2 separate regions of the Homo sapiens genome follow, and region 1 is linked to region 2. Evidence: promoter capture Hi-C in 16 types of primary human blood cells and fetal thymus (Javierre and others, 2016). All regions are on one chromosome and are shown on one strand. Each heading gives the region's core, a stretch centred on a gene start or on the middle of the fragment in contact. The rest is flanking DNA. Distances are from core to core; before and after follow the strand shown.

Region 1 (3,497 bases), core at 764-3,263, 260 kb before region 2:
AGCTGGGACTACAGGCACCCGCCACCATGCCTGGCTAATTTTTTTGTATTTTTAGTAGAGGCGGGGTTTCACCATGTTGGCCAGTATGGTCTCGATCTCCTGACCTTGTGATCTGCCTGTCTCGGCCTCACAAAGTGCTGGGATTACAGGCGTGAGCCACCACGCCCGGCCAACTTAGTCTTTTTGTTTACTTGAGGAGAGAAGGCTCTGGATCAGGAAGGCCTCCAGGGACAAAGCTTCTCTATCTCACTTAGATCTCCTGAAATGGAAAATCTGGAATTTCACTGGGTGTGATGGCTCACACCTATAATCCCAGCACTTTGGGAGGCCGAGGCAGGTGGATTGCTTGAGGCCAGAAGTTCAAGACCAGCCTGGGGAACATGGTGAAACCCTGCCTTCGCTAAAAATACACAAAATTAGTTGGGCACGGTGGTGTGCACTTGTCGTCCCAGCTATTCTGGAGGCTGAGGCAGGAGAATCGCTTGAACCTGGGAAGCGGAGCTTGCAGTGAGCTGAGATCATTCTGCTGCTGCACTCCAGTCTAGGCAACAGAGTGAGACACTGTCTCAAAAAATAAATAGATAAATAATCTGAAATTTATTTGAGATCAAGGTAGGTTTATGTCTTCAGTATCTTAACTCTTCTAATAAAGTTGGTGGGGTTCCCTTAAGTCACTGGAAAAGAGCTTAGGTGGGGAAAGTAGACAACTCTGCCATGAGGTCACATCTGGGCAGGTGTCCCAGGTGGTGTGGCTCTGAAGCTGTGTCAACATAGGAATCCAGCAGCATTGGTTCCACTAACCTGGTATGGATATTTCTACTTTCTTCTCCTGGCCAAGAAGGAGATTCTGGATGTAGCAGGACACATTTTTCGCAGAAGTGTCTCTGATGATCACTGAAGCAGCCACAGTGAACAAACCTTCTTCATCAGGATTCCTGGACTCTGATGTAGATGGAAACTTCTCTCCCTTGGAAGTTCTCCACTGCACCTGGGGCTCTGGGTACCATCCCACTGAGGTGCACTCCAGACAGATTTCTCCATTCTCTTGAACTTGCATACTGATGTGAGGGTCAGAGCCCAGAGCTATGGAGAGAGAATCTGGACTTAATGTTTTAGCGGACCCCTTTTGGGAGCCTTATAACCAGAGAGCTACATAGTTTGAGAAAGAGAGAGACAGAAAGGCACAAGTGGACTAGTAGGGGGAAGAACTCATCTCCATATTTCAATATACAAGGAAACTGAGGGCCAGGCACAGTGGTTTATGTCTGTAATGTCAGCACTTTGGGAGGCTGAGGCAGGATTACTTGAGTCCAGGAGATCAAGACCAGCCTGGGCAACACAATGAGACCCCATCTCTTTGGGCATGGTGGTTCTTGCCTGTATTCCTAGCTACTTGGGAGGCTGAGGTTGGAGGATTGCTTGAGTTCAGGAGTTCAAGGCTGCAGTGAGCTGTGATGGCACCACTGCACTCCAGCCTGGGTGACAGAGTGAAATGCTGTTTCTAAAAAAGTTTTTTTTTTTTTTTAAAGGAAATTGAAGTACCAATAAAAGGAATTTCATATACCTTATCAGAGAAGGATGCCTTGTTGGGATCAAGCCTTTGAAATGTTTGCAGCAGTTTGGTGGGCAGACTTGGGGGTGCTTGTCCAGCCAGCAGGAACACTAAGACCAATAACTCAGAGGTGGGTTAGTGGTCTAGGCTGAGAGCATTATGAGAAGACTTTGGTGGGGAGGAGGAGAAATAGGACTGGGTATTTAAGGATGAACAGAGGAATATCCTTGAGGAGAGGATTGGCGATTCTTTGGCTTGAGATTATAGTTGACAATTTAAGCTTTCTTTATCTATGATGTTGATTCAGAAATTTTCTTAAATGGTCTCAACTTCATATTCCCTCACATAATTGTGGCCTGTTATATATAAACATAAAGCTGCTTTTCTTGTGTGTTTAGCCTATTTTTTTCTGTAATTCCACATGGTACAGAAAAACACTGAGCTGCATAAAAGAGCTCTTAAACACATTTCCACAACCACTGGTTAAAATCCACATTCCAAGAATGTGTGTATATACAAGAATATATATTCTTTTCATGGAAGGAGCTGCCACTTTCAGCAGATTCTCAAGGGTGTCTGCCACTCATAAAAGGTAACACATTTTATGCCATCAAATTTCTATGTTTTTATAATCAAGCTTTAAGATACTTCTTCCCTAAAAACAAAATGTCAAAATTTGAATTATACATGATGCTGCAACTGGGGGACCCTGTTGTGAAGCAGGGACCCACATTTCACCCAAGTATTTTTCAAACTTTATATTTACTTGAATATATATCTATGTATATATATATATAATATATGCATATAGATTTAGATAATATATACATATATGATATATATGTGAAAGGCAATATGTTTGTATATTATATGTTTTAGATCAGTTTAAGGCACAGTATAGTATCTAATAAGTCTATAATGTTTTTAGAATTGGCGAGGTCATTTCTCATATATTGTCTAATTTTATTTTATTCTTTTTTTTTTTGTTAGAGACGAGTCTCACTCTGTTGCCCAGGCTGGAGTGCAGTAGTGCAGTCTCAGCTCACTGCAACCTCTGCCTCCCAGGTTCAAGCGATTTTCCTTGAGTAGCTGGGATTACAGGTATGACCCAGCTAATTTCTTTTTGTATTTTTAGTAGAGATGGGGTTTTGCCATGTTGGCCAGGCTGGTCTTGAATATCCTGATCAAAAGTGAGTCACCCGCCTTGGCCTCCCAAAATGCTGGGATTACAGGCGTGAGACACCACATCCCACTTTTTTTTTTTCTTTTTTTGACAGCACACTCTATTGTCCAGGCTGGAGTGCAGTGGCAACCATCAGCTTACTGTAACCTTGAATTTCTTGGCTCAAGAGATCCTCCTGCCTCTGCTTCCCAAAGCGCTGAGATTATAGGAGTTGGCCACTGGTCCCAGACTATTTTATTCTTGAAAAATAATCTTAGATAAAAACATCCTCAGTTTTACAGTAAAAATCAGAAAGAGATTTGCTTGATGTCATTCACTAGGAATTGAGAAAGTCAGACCTCAATGCGTACTTTCCTCCTCAAAGCTTATTATTTTCTTTATTGTTTCCCTTTGAATTCTGGCTTGAAGCAAAAAAGGGAACAAGAACAGAATCTTTTCTATATGAATCAGGAATGTGACAAACCGCCATGCTCTCTAATCTTAGGATGTCAGTCTTTAGAAACTAATCCATAAGCCAGCCTTAAAGTGTGTGGTATGCTCACCACAGCCATAAGATGTGTAATGGTGAGAAATACAATTTAAATGTACAATTCAGGGACTCGATGAAGTAAATTATGGTGTACTTGTATAAAAGAATGTTATATAACTCTTATATGTATTTAATTATTTCATGAAGAAATGCTTACCCTATTATTGAAAAAGGGCTGGAGATAATTGAAATAAAGTTCTACAATAAAGACATTGCACTGTTCTCTCCATGTT
Region 2 (3,467 bases), core at 304-2,803:
TTGTATTTTTAGTAGAGACGAGGTTTTGCAGTGCTAGCCAGGCTGGTCTCGAACTCGTTGAGCTCAAGTGATCCACCCACCTCGGCCTCCCAAGCTGCTGGAATTACAGATGGGATTGCAGACATGAGCCACCGAGCCCGGCCAAACTTTACTTTTTTTTTTTTTTTTTTGAGGCATGGTCTCTGTCGCCCAGGCAGGAGTGGAGTGGCACCATCTCAGCTCACTGAAATCTCCGCCTCCCGTGCTCAAGCGATTCTCCTGCCTCAGCCCTTGCAGATTAGCTGCGACAGCAGGCGTCCGCCACAACGCCGGGCTAACTTTCCTATTTAACTTTTTTAGTTGAGACGGAGTTTCACCATTTTGGTTGCCCAGGCTAGTCTCGAACTCCTGAGCTCTAGTAATCCGCCCGCCGTGGTCTCCCAAGGTGCTGTGATTCAGGCCTGAGGCACCGCGCCCGGACACAAGTAGTGGATTAAGTTTACCAGTAATTGATCTGTCCACAGCCGCCCTAAGATTACTCACGTTCTATGCCTAATAAATAACACTAAGGCCGGGCACGGTGGCTCACGCCTGCAATCCCTGCACTTTGGGAGGCCAAGAAGGGCGGATCACCTGAGGTCGGGAGTTCGAGACCAGCCAGACCAACACAGAAAAGCCCCTTCTGTACTAAAAATAAAAAATTAGCCAAGCGTGGTGGCGCATGCCTGTAACCCCAGTTACTCGGGAGGTTGAGTCAGGAGAACCGCTTAAACCCGGGAGGGGGTGGTTGCGGTGAGCCGAGATTGCGTCATTGCACTACAGCCTGGACAAGAGCAACTCCATCTCAAAAACTAAACATGTAATGCTAGTGTAGTTAAGTCCCAGCCACCTAACATAGGAGTAAATTTCAGAAACGTGGGAATAAAACACATCACATACGTCATAAAAGGCTGCTGGTATTCCCAAACCATTTCCACCATCTTTTCCTGTGAATGTTTGCGATCGAAATACCTGAACAAGTTTCTAATGTTTCGCCTTCCCTTTCTCCTTAGCACATCCGCCATCTTAGGAAGATCGCTAAAAACGGCTCGGTTTAACTCAGTTAGAATCCCAAATTTACAAAACGAAACCCAAGTCGTCATCAGTTACAGCCCTTCGTGTGACGAAGGAGGTGGCCCTGAAAAGGGCCTTTTATGGGTGAGCTGTTAAATAAAAAGCCGGGGTGAGGCTCAGCCACCAAAGCCGTACAGAGTGCGTCCCTGGCGCTTGAGCGCGTAGACAACATCCATTGCAGTGACTGTCTTACGCTTGGCGTGCTCCGTGTAGGTTACGGCGTCCCGTATCACATTCTCCAGGAACACCTTAAGAACACCGCGGGTCTCCTCATAAATGAGGCCCGAAATGCGTTTCACGCCGCCGCGTCGGGCCAAGCGACGGATGGCGGGCTTCGTGATGCCCTGTATGTTGTCACGCAGCACTTTGCGATGGCGCTTGGCGCCTCCCTTTCCTAAACCTTTACCACCTTTGCCTCTACCAGACATGATCGAAGACAAACAACAACTCTTAACTTTTGCAACTTTGCTACACACTGAAGCCCCTTATATATCAATTATGCGGACCTTTTTGGAGACTGAATTGGAGGGGCGGGAACGAAACCTCTGTCTCCGCCTTTTCCGTAACTTACTGGGCGTCCCCTACACTATTGCCTTGGGAAGGAAAGGGGGCGGTGAGGGTAGGGGAAATGCAAGTTGATTTGACTCCTTCCTGTTTCCTTGTTTGGGTCTTGAGTGTAGGTTTCTGTGTCTTCTAGTCCAGTGCCTGTGGGCTCTCGAACTGATAATGTCTGTCTCCTAAAATCCTTATTATTTGCAAAAAGGAGGCAGTAACGCTACACTTGTCTACCGAATGGATAGACAAGAGAATAAAATTATTATTTCTTTTGAAACAGTTTTGCTCTGCCCCAGACTGGAGTGCAGTGGCGTGATCTCGGCTCACTGCAACCTCCGCCTCTCGGGTTCGAGCGATTCTTCTGCCTCAGCCCCTGCAGTAGCTGCAACTACAGGCGCGCGTCACCACGCCCGGCTAATTTTTGTATTTTTAGTAGAGATGGGGTTTCGCCATGTTGACTAGGCTGGTCTCGAACTCCTGACCTCAGGTGATCCACCCGCCTCGGCCTCCCAAAGTTCTGGGATTACAGGCGCCTAGCTTTAATTTTTAAATGTGAAGATTCTTTGAAAATGTATTTTTACTAATTTTTTTTTTTTGATACGGGGTCTCACTCTGTTGCCCAGGCTGGAGTGCAGTGGCGCTATCTCGGCTCACTGCAACCTCCGCCTTCTGGGTTCAAGCGATTCTCATGCCTCAGCCTCACGAGTAGCTGTGATTTCAGGCACGCGTCGCCACACCTGGGTAATTTTTGTATTTTCTTAGTAAAGACGGGGTTTCGCCATGTTGGCCAGGGTGGTCTCGAACTCCTGACTTCAGGTGATCCACCCACCTTGGCCTCACAAAGTGCTGGGATTACTGGCGTGAGCCACCACGCCCGGCCATTTTTATTAATTCTTAAAATGTAGCAATACTTCTTAAATTTGGCCAATCATGAGACTTAGCGTTTGGCAGAGACATATACATTCACATCGTTTTTGGCATTCCTAATAAAGAAAGACCTCTAGTAAGGGAAACCAATATTAATTGAAGTTTCATTCTTAGTTTTTCAATGTATAATGCAATATCTGAGGTGTAAAGATAAGGAATCCCAGGCTTGAAGACATTATCCTCTAATAAATGGCATTGTATTGTTGGCTCGATTCTGGAGTCTCACTACCTTGCTACCTACCACTGCTTTCATGCCACTAAAGCATACATGGTAAATCATGGTGAATAAAGGTTTGTAAATTAACAAAAATAATACTAATAAATTCTGTGAAATACTGTCCTAATAAAAGATTCCGGAAGAAGTGTTCTACACACAGATCATAGGGTATGTGTAGTAGAAAAATTCAACATTAACTCTTACAGTCTACTGCTTCACATTCATTGCCTCCTATATACTGCAAGGGTAACTTAAAAATCCCGTCTCTGCTGGTGCCTAAAAGCAGTGAGAAGATTATTCATTTTGTGGAGTTAAGAGTCTACTTAAATTTTGGCTTAGGTTCAGTTACCTGTAGGAATAGACACAAGGATCTCAAGTGCTCTCCTTTTTGAGGTAGGCACCAAACAAGCATCATTCATTCATTCAACAATTTAATGTCCACTACATGCCAAGAATAGTGTACAAATACCAGGTTTACAAAGATAATCACATTTATTCTCTTAAAGAACTCAAAAGTTTAGTAAAGGGAAAAGTACACTCAGGGTTAGGGGGCAGATATCAGACCAGCATACTTCTACTTACTGTCAGGTATTTAAGGGCGGAGCAGCCATATCCCAGCTATACTGGCATCACTCTGAAGCTTGTTAGACATACAGAATTTCGGGCCCAACCCCAA

What was found. Contacts are between HindIII fragments. The CHiCAGO score rates a contact against its expected background, and 5 or more counts as called.
Region 1: a contact is called between a fragment that was not itself captured here and the fragment with the promoter of H4C6 in region 2, in 1 of 17 cell types (monocytes). The highest score is 5.0, in monocytes.

The regions. Positions count from the first base shown.
Region 1 is chr6:26,502,511-26,506,007 of GRCh38, reverse strand. BTN1A1 (butyrophilin subfamily 1 member A1) reads right to left here. Exons shown (of 8, transcript NM_001732.3): 4 at 802-1,083. The region is part of intron 1 of LOC107986583 (a long non-coding RNA gene); the gene reads left to right. Among named protein-coding and RNA genes, the nearest start is that of BTN1A1, 4.0 kb to the right of the region's middle. The HindIII fragment of the contact is 357 bases long and covers 1,835-2,191 here.
Region 2 is chr6:26,238,479-26,241,945 of GRCh38, reverse strand. H4C6 (H4 clustered histone 6) reads right to left here and starts at 1,553. Exons shown (of 1, transcript NM_003540.4): 1 at 1,153-1,553. The coding sequence starts at 1,520. The coding sequence ends at 1,209. RefSeq lists enhancers at 1,317-1,366, 1,827-1,926. The HindIII fragment of the contact is 5,393 bases long and covers 1-3,433 here.